2 separate regions of the Homo sapiens genome follow, and region 1 is linked to region 2. Evidence: promoter capture Hi-C in human tissues and cell types (Jung and others, 2019). All regions are on one chromosome and are shown on one strand. Each heading gives the region's core, a stretch centred on a gene start or on the middle of the fragment in contact. The rest is flanking DNA. Distances are from core to core; before and after follow the strand shown. Region 1 holds the start of PRICKLE3 (prickle planar cell polarity protein 3). Region 2 holds the start of SYN1 (synapsin I).

Evidence for each region. Contacts are between HindIII fragments. The study calls those that stand out against the background at their distance.
Region 1: the fragment with the promoter of PRICKLE3 here is called in contact with the fragment with the promoter of SYN1 in region 2 in 1 of the 25 tissues and cell types used here (lymphoblastoid cells).

What each region holds. Positions count from the first base shown.
Region 1 is chrX:49,185,123-49,187,822 of GRCh38, forward strand. PRICKLE3 (prickle planar cell polarity protein 3) reads right to left here and starts at 1,251. Exons shown (of 9, transcript NM_006150.5): 1 at 1,134-1,251. The coding sequence starts at 1,175. SYP (synaptophysin) reads right to left here. Exons shown (of 7, transcript NM_003179.3): 7 at 2,693-2,700. RefSeq lists a cis regulatory region at 1,010-1,550 and a silencer at 1,244-1,373. The HindIII fragment of the contact is 10,179 bases long and covers 1-1,391 here.
Region 2 is chrX:47,615,668-47,622,244 of GRCh38, forward strand. It overlaps SYN1 (synapsin I), which reads right to left and starts at 4,190. Exons shown (of 13, transcript NM_006950.3): 1 at 3,685-4,190. The coding sequence starts at 4,061. RefSeq lists silencers at 4,203-4,497, 4,204-4,413. The HindIII fragment of the contact is 13,946 bases long and covers 1,238-6,577 here.

The sequences.
Region 1 (2,700 bases), core at 1-2,500, 1.6 Mb after region 2:
CCATCTACGCCGCCAGCAGCACTCCAGTTCCACAGGGTAGGAGACGAGACCGCATTCTTCCTTGAGATCCCCACGTGAACCCTGCCCCTCTCTTCAGAAGCTCAGGAGCTCCTCCCCTAAACCCTGGCCTCATGCCCTGATACCCAAGGAACTGGGGACCCTCCCCAGGATCTCAGGAGGCCCCTGCTCCATTCAGAAACCCCCATCCCAAGAAACCTTGGCCTTTACCCATCCCATCCTAGGGCTATTTATTCCTTCTCCGGACCATCAAACCCAGACCCCACATTCCCAGGTCAGAGACCCACTCCAAAGGAAGTGAAAGAACCTCCTATCTAAGAAGTCAAAAACTCCCTTGCTCAGGCGGAACCCTGGAAGCCTTGTCCCCCCAAATCCCAGTCTCTTGACTCTCAGCATTTCGGCATCCCAGGAGTGTAGGACTCCATCCCTCCGTGCACATTCCTCCAAGGTACTGTGTCCTTTAGAAGCTGAGGAGGTCGGCCAGGCTCGGTGGCTCACGCCTATAATCCCAGCACTTTGGGAGGCCGAGGTGGGCGGATCACCTGAGGTCAGGAGTTCGAGACCAGCCTGGCCAACATGGTGAAACCTTGTCTCTACTAAAAATACAAAAATTAGGCGGGCGCGGTGGCGGGCGTCTGTAATCCCAGGTACATGGGAGGCTGAAGCAGGAGAATCGCTTGAACCCAGGAGGCGGAGGTTGCAGTGAGCGGAGATAGCGCCACTGCACTCCAGCCTGGGTGACAGAGATTCAGTCTCAAAAAAAAAAAAAAAAAAAAAAAGCAGCAGCTCAGGAGGTTCCTGCTCAACCTAAGGCTTCAAGACCCAGTTCTCTGGCCCTCAGGATTCCCTCCCACAATTCATAAGAGAGGGGTCCCCACCAGGTCCCAGGAGTGCTGATGAAAGTGTGTGGAGAGGTGATTAGGGGGTTTGGGCCACCAGATCTACACCTTCCTCCATCCATTCGCCTCCAGCAGCCCCAGCCCCAGGTCTGGGAATGCAGGGGATGGGATTCCCAGATCCTCTGTGGGGCACCTATTCGCTATGCCTATCCATTGCCCCCTTGCCTGGGCCTCAGTTTACCCCCGACCCCCACCGCTGCCCTGACTCCCGCTCACCGCACGCCCGGAGCGGCGCCTCCGGGACCCACGCGCGAACATGGCGCGCCCGGGCAGGGTCAAGCCGGGCCGGGTCAGGCGAATGTAATCCTTGCGACCGTCAGGCCACCGCGCGTCCGGCCTGGGAACTCGGTTCCGTAAACCTGACACCCTCGTGGGAGGAGCGCGCCCCGCAGGGCCCGCCCCCGGGCATGTGGTCTCTCCGCTGCCAGGGCGCCCCCTGCCTAGAGGTGAACTGCACGTAGCCCGGAGTGCCCCGCGGGAAAGGCCTCTGCCCTCCCGCTCCGGGCCGGTGCGGGGCGTCACAAGGCACGACCCCCAGAATCCCGGCGTGCCACGTGGCCTCTCACGGGACCTGGGGCTTGAAGGTTCTGTAGTGGAGGATGGGGAGACTCAGAGGTGGCCAACTGGACTGAGAGGGGTGGCGCGCTAGGGTGCTTGTGTTGACGTTTTGTGTCGATTTATTTCGGATGCTTATTTGGGAGAGGGGTTAAAGACACCTCTTGGCTCCTCCCCACTGGTGAGGTTCCGAGGGTCTCCCCGATGAATGCTGCAACAATGGGCCCCAACCTCACCCGCAGCCCCAGCTGGTGCTCGCTGGGAACCTGGGAACCTGGCCCTAGCCACCAGAGAGCTAGATCTTATACGCACTCCTCCCTTCTCATTCCCCTCTCAGCGAGGCCAGGTTCCAAAGCCCTCGTCCCCTCTCTCCCCTCATCCTTATAAGCCTAGCTGTCCAGCCCCGTCCCCCCACCCCAAGTCTTGAGAAGTAGATCTTAAAGCCTTCCCTCCCCCACCCACATTTTTCTCTCTCCAGTTATCCCCTTCCCCAGCTCAGTTCCAGGGCGGGGAGCCTCTCCTTCACGCTCTCAGGCTTGGCTGTGCCTCCGGGCTGGGGGGAGGGGGTCCCATGGCCTCAGTCAGAACTCGGCCCGGGTCTCTATGCACGGAGACTGCAGCGGCCAGGCCCTTCATCGCGGGCCCCGGGGACCTCTCCCCGCCCCCCATTACACATGTCCCTGTCACTTCCCGTGGAGTGGAGAGGTAAAAGAGAATAACTAATGAACTAAGGAGTCACCCCGGCGCCCCACCTCCCCTCCTTGCCTAACCTGTCTCCCATTTCTCCAGCCTGGGCGGAGGCAGGGAAAGGAGAGACAGTAGGGTCTGAAGATTAGGGATGGGGTCAGGCAATGTGAGGTTTCCTCCTATTCGGACCCCTTGGGGATTTGAGGAGAGGGTTCCACAGGGGCTCGGAAGAGGCTTGGCTAAGGGACCAGAATTAGAACCAACTCCTAGAAAGACCGGGCATTTGGTGGCCAGTAGTGGGAGGGTGAGCAGGGCTACTCAGAGAGTGACAGAGTGATTGGCAGGAGAGGCTTCCCAGAGGATGCTGCTCTGCCTAACACTTTTGAAGGGGCCTGAAATGGTGCAGCAAGCTGAACTGCGGTCGGTGGGTCCGGGTGGAGCTTGTTCTCACCACCTCTCCCTCCTTTCTCCCCCGGCCAACCTCCTCCCCGGCGCCCGAAAAAGACACACTGAGAAATCAGAGCCGGGTAGACTAGGTGGT
Region 2 (6,577 bases), core at 2,940-5,439:
AGGCCGAGGTGGGTGGATCACGAGGTCAGAAGTTTGAGACCAGCCTGACCAACATGGTGAAACCCCATCTCTACGAAAAATACAAAAATTAGCCAGGCATAGTGGCATGTGCCTGTAGTCCCAGCTACTCAGGAGGCTCGCTTGAACCCAGGAGACGGAGGTTGCAGTGAGCCGAGATCGTGCCATTGCACTCCAGCCTGGGCGACAGAGCAAGACTCCGTCTCAAAAAAAAAAAAAGAAAGAAAAACACAGGACAAAATTACCCACAAAATGGGGGAGATGAGTCTCAACTTAGAGTTTTCAACTTTAAACCACAGAGGAATTGAGACCCAGGAAGGAATGAGGGTGGTGAGGTTTGGTGGAAAAGGCGTCAGACTGTATTTCGGTGTACATTCCATCACAGAGTTTGCACAACTCCTGCTTTATTTGGGGCTGAAATCCCTGAAGCTAGTGTGGTTCTGAGTGTCTGCAAGTTGGTAAAACAGGTCTCTGTTCCCCACACTGAGCCTGGCGTACATACATAGGCTCTGTCCCTTTGTCCACCCCACCCCACATATAGTAGACACTAAATAAATATTTGCTAGATTGCCTGGAAGAAAAGACTGGAGGGGATGCTGGGATAAAGGGGGGCTTCTGAGATGCAGAAGGGGAAGGGATGGATCTTTCACTGAATTCAGCAGGTGCTCAATAAATGTTTTCTGGACAAAGAAAAAATGGAAAACATTGAATTTGTGATTATGGAAAGGGGAAGGGACTTGTCAGTATTCCATAGATAATAAATGCTTGATGGAAAGAAGGAAGCAGACGCAAAGGACCTGCATGGAGGGCTGGAGTGGAGACCGGAAGTCTAAAGGAGGGTGATTACCTATATCCAGCAGAGGCCTCATTGATGTTTGCTGACTTCAATGGAGCAAACTTAACCAGGAAGATAACACGTTGGTGAGTGGACGTTGGTGAAGGAATTACAGCACGTGCTCCATAAATGCTTTACAGATTGATAGAGAAAAAAGCGGAGAAGCCTGCTGCAGGGATGATAATGTGGCTGTTTGAAAATAATACAGTAAGAGATTAATAAGTGTTTTCTGGACTAATTCGGGGAGAAAAAGGCAGCTGGGGAGATGGCTACTAAGTGGAGGAAGAGGCCTAGCTAGAATAAATGGAAAACAGTGCACATTGTGAGCTTTCAGGATTGTGTTGTGTAAAAGGCAGGATGGAGATTGTTGAAGGGGGAATTGGGACTACAAAAAGGGGAGAAGAGGCATTTAACGCAGGGTTCTCAGTAGTATACGATAAATGCTCATTAAATGATTGTGGGGTTGCATGGAGGAAAAGGTATAGCAAGGCCAGCTGGCAGGTGAGGATTTCAAGCACACCTGCATTTAGAAAAAAAAGAAGGAAGGGGAGCTGAAGAAGGGTTATTCCTAGTATATAATGGTGCATAATAAATGCCTCCCACACTTTCATGGAAAGGATGCAATAAATATCTGCAGAATGAATAAATTGCTCTGAATGGAGAGAAAGGCTACTCGGTAAAGGCTCCTGGGGGAGAGGTAATCTAACCAGTAAACAGCTGGTACTCAATACATTTAGGCTGAAGTAGACCCCTAGAGAGAGAGCTCTTGAGGCAGGGTCAGGGATTTCCAGAGACTTGGAAAGAGGAAGTTGAAAGTGACTTATACAGTAAGTGCTCAATAAGTGTTTACTTAAATAGTAAAACTATTAAGTAAATAGTAAATTTAGTAAATTTACTAAATTTATTTAGTAAATTAAGTCAATAGTAAAACTATTAAGTAAAAGTGTTTACTTAAGTAAGTGTTACTTAAATAGACTAAAAGCCCTTTGGGGGTATGAATTAAAGTTGGTAGAGGGAATCCTAGGGGTACTGAAGGGAGTGGGAAAGGGGTGATCATTATAAACTCAGCTCTGGATTTATCACAGGAAAGGACCTTGGGAGAGGCCTTGTGATTGGAACAGGCTCTCCTAGGGGTAAGGAAGAAGAATGTACTCCCCAAAACAACAGGTCCTGCATATGTGCTCACTGGATCTACTGTTAAGAAAACAATTCTGGGGAGGAGGTGTGAATATACAGAACACACAGAAGACACTCCATAAATGCTCAGGGGAGCCATTGGAAGAAAAGGTCTTTGGGGGAGGATGATTAAAATGGAGCACATGACAGACAAGGAATAAATGCTCACTGGATCCATTAGAAGAAAAGGCCTTTGGGGAGTGGGGCTGGGGATGGACATATAGTCACCTGATCAAGGCTCACTGCATCCCTGAAGGAAAAGTCCTATGGGGAGGGGAAATGGGAGTGCAGAAAGTTGATCTATGGGAGCTCGATTCTTCATCCATAGGAGAAAAGGCTTTTGTGAAGAAGGCACACAATCAGGTACACAGCAGGTGCTCCATAAATACTCCAAGGAGTGATTAAAAGAAAAGGTCTTTGGAAAGAGTGACTGGAATGGTACACACAGCAAGTGCCAGATATCTGAGCACTGTATTAACTGGAGGCACAGGCCTTTATGGAGAGGTCTAAGGTTGGGTCATGCAGAAAGTGCTCAATACATGCAGACTGAAGCCACTGGAGGAAAGGGTATTGCAGAAAGGGTTTGAGGGTGGGGTATACAGCAGGCACCAGTCAATGCATGCTTGCTGAATACACTGGAGGAAAGAACTTTTAGAGAAGGCTCACACTGCAGGCAGTTGATAAATGCTAGATGGATCCACCAAAGGAAAGGTCTTTGAAGAAGTAGCTGGAGAACGGGGGATACAAGAGGCACTCAATAAATGTTTTCTAGATCCACTGTAGGGAAAGGTCTTTGAGGAGACGGTCTGAAGATGAGTCACACAAAGAAGGTTCAAAACTGCTCATGGAACTCACTGGAGGAAAATGATTTGTTTGAGAAGGGGTTTGGGGGTGCGGCACGTATCAGGCACTTAACAAATGCTTCCTAGATCCTTTGGAGAAAAGGCCCTCAGAGAGAGGGCTTGGAGTTGGGGCACAGAGAAGGCATCCAATCAAAACTCACAGGATCCATGAAAGGCAAAGCTTTTGGAGAGAAGCTGGGGTGGGATACACAGCAGGTACTCAATGTTTACTAAATAGTTTAAAAGGGCTTTAAGGACGGAGCTGGGGTGGGACACATAGCATAGACTGGACACATGCTCACAAGACCCATTAGAGAAGGCCTCAGGGCAAGGGTTGAGGAGAACAGGACAGTATCAGGCTCTCAAAGAATGCTCACAAACCTCATTGAAATCAAAGGCCTTGGGGAAGGGCTCTTGGATGAGGCATACTGCAGGTACTAGATAAGTGCTCACAAGATCCATTAGAGGACAAGGCCTATGGGGCAAGGGTTGGGGAGGGTAGGAAGGACACGTTCGGTTTTCGAAGGCTCATAGGATATATTGAAGCCAAAGACTTTTGGGGGAGGGGTAGTAGGGAACAGGTACGCAGCAGGTGCCTGATAATTGCTCCCTGGATCCATCAAGGTTTAAGGGGCGGAGGGGGGCGACAAGGGCGGGGCACAGAGGAAGCATCCAGCTTAATAATTTAAAGGAAAAAGATTTAGGTGAGAGGGCCAGGTGTCAGGCACACAAGCGGCGCTCGATAATTGCTCATTCGCAGAAGAACGATCTGGGGACCCAGGCCCACGGGAGACGTCCGCGGCAGTGGCTTACCAGTCGGTGTGCGGCTCGTCGATGACCAGCAGCACCCTGGAGGCGGCTCCCCCGCGGCCTGCGCCCCCAGAGCCGCCGCCCACCTGCTCGCTGAAGGTGGCAGCTGCCGCCGCCGTGGTCTGCTTGACCGCGTTGGACAGCGACGAGAAGAAGCCACCGCCCCCCGAGGACCCGGGGCTAGGGGCGGCCGGAGAGGCCGCTGGGGCGACCCCGGAGGACCTCTCGGCAGTGGCGGTCCCGGGACCGGGCGTGGCTCCGGGGCTGTGGGCACCGGGCGGCGGTGGGGGCGGCTGCGGACGCTGCAGGTCTGTCATGTACCCATTTGGCAGATTGGCCATAAAGTTGCTGTCCGACAGGCGGCGCCGCAGGTAGTTCATGGCTGCGACTTGGGGCAGGGGGTCCTAGGGGTGGTCTGGCCAGGAGCCGCGGGGGCGGACTGCGCGGTGCCCAGGAGCACAGCTGCGCTCTCAGGCACGACACGACTCCTCCGCTGCCCACCGCAGACTGAGGCAGCGCTGAGTCGCCGGCGCCGCAGCGCAGATGGTCGCGCCCGTGCCCCCCTATCTCGCGCCTCGCGTGGTGCGGTCCGGCTGGGCCGGCGGCGGCGCGGACGCGACCAAGGTGGCCGGGAAGGGGAGTTTGCGGGGGACCGGCGAGTGACGTCAGCGCGCCTTCAGTGCTGAGGCGGCGGTGGCGCGCGCCGCCAGGCGGGGGCGAAGGCACTGTCCGCGGTGCTGAAGCTGGCAGTGCGCACGCGCCTCGCCGCATCCTGTTTCCCCTCCCCCTCTCTGATAGGGGATGCGCAATTTGGGGAATGGGGGTTGGGTGCTTGTCCAGTGGGTCGGGGTCGGTCGTCAGGTAGGCACCCCCACCCCGCCTCATCCTGGTCCTAAAACCCACTTGCACTCATACGCAGGGCCCTCTGCAGATACTCGGTTTGTAGTGTTGATATTCAACTCAGAAGGCATTTTTTGGGGGGAGGGGGGCACTGGAAGCACACTCAGAGACACGAAAGTAGAGAAATAACCCCCTCACAGAGGGGGGTGAGGTCACACGCAGTGCCCGCGGGGAGATTAGTCTCCCACATCCACACAGGCTCAGCTAGGCAGAGAGCGGGGGCGTCACAGACAGCATCAGACAAGCGGAGGTGGACACTTGGGTGGTGTACACACCCTTGCCCAAGGTGGCAAGGGGGGCCTGGAGGCACACAAGAAATGACACACATATAAACACACACAAAAGTGAGGAAACATACGAGGGCATGTACAGACAGAACACACGCCAATCTAGGTATACATACAGACATACAAGTCCAGAGTAACACACATGGGCATGTTACATACATGCATGCATACACCCATACCCCCACACACACAGGTAACACACTGACACACAGAGACCCAGGGAAACTCATATGAGCATACACTTGCAGACAAAACACATTCCCACCGATGATCATGGAGAAACCTAGATCTGCAACACAGACATTCTCTGCAGCCCTAGCCCTGGTGCGTGTCCACCCCCACACCAGAACACACTTGGTATATACGCCACCATCCCTTTGCTCTGGACACCGCCAAAACTCACGATAACTACCTGATGTCATCAGTGCCCATGGCTGTCTCCCCCTGCACCCAAGAACTTTCCACAGAGGCAGGCCCATCCCATGGTGCACACACAGTAGGTACCAAATAATGTTTGCATATGAGCAAATGAGGTAGTCCAAGCAGAGGTGGGATATGGGAACCTGTCAAATCTTTATGATTCTGACTACAATAAAAGCACTAATTCATAATCATTTGTTCACTGATTGTACCCAACTCTTAACTAAGCTGTTTACATGCATCATTTCATCCAACCCTCACAACAATCCAGTGGGGTGGATAATATAATGTCTATTTTACAGATGAGGGAATACAAGAACTCCAGTTAATTCCCAAAGGGTCATGTTCACTTTATGATCAACACATTTTTTTAAGAATGTGCCAGGAAGAGGAAACATCCAGTGCCAATGTGGCTGGAACAAGCTGAAGGGGGTTGTGGTAGCAGGGGCCAGATTGGGTAGGACCTTGACCATAGTGAGCAGTGATGGTGGACTAGGAGAGGTGGCAGAAGATAGGCAAGAAGTAAGTAGATATGGAGTCTCTTTTGCCTGCAGAATTTTCAGGTGACTCATCCACTTATTCATTTGTTCATCCTTTATTCATTAAATCATTGGCTGGTTTAAACAAGGCAGTAATAGTGTGGGGTCTGGAGACACAGTGCCTGGGTTCAAGTGGGGCCTCCACCATACACTTGGGAAAGTGACTTAATCTTTCTGAGATTTGGTTTCCTCATCTGTAAAAAGGATACATCTCTAACCCACCTCTAAGGAGAGGGGTAGGAAGGGGGCAACCTCTGTACCTTTGCATGTGTTGTAACTTCTGCCAGGAATGTCCTCTCCTTCTCTCTCGAGGGCTGCCTTTGGCCACTGTCTGCAGGAACCCCTCACCCCCAGGTCTCAGATTCTATCCCCTCCTCCCCTAGGCTTCCACAGTACCCAAGTCAAACACTTCCCAAACCATCCTCTACTCCCTCCTCCAACCCAGCCAGCTTCAGTCCCACCTCCAGGCCTTTGATTTGGCCACTCTTTTCTCCTCCCTTCAGGATTCCTTCTCTGGCATTCCAAATCCTAGTGTTACCCAGATGGGGATCTCCCCGCAAATCAGATATTTTCCAATGTCTTGAAGTATGTGCTCCCTGGTTTTTTGCCCAGTAACGGAAGCAAACAAGCTGTGCAGGGCGCGGTGCCCTCTTTGGGGACAGGAACAGCTGCAGGTCTACAGATCTTTCTGACTCCTTTAGGTCTGAATTCAGGTTCCTCGGGAATCTATCTCCAGGCTGCGCCTCTTCC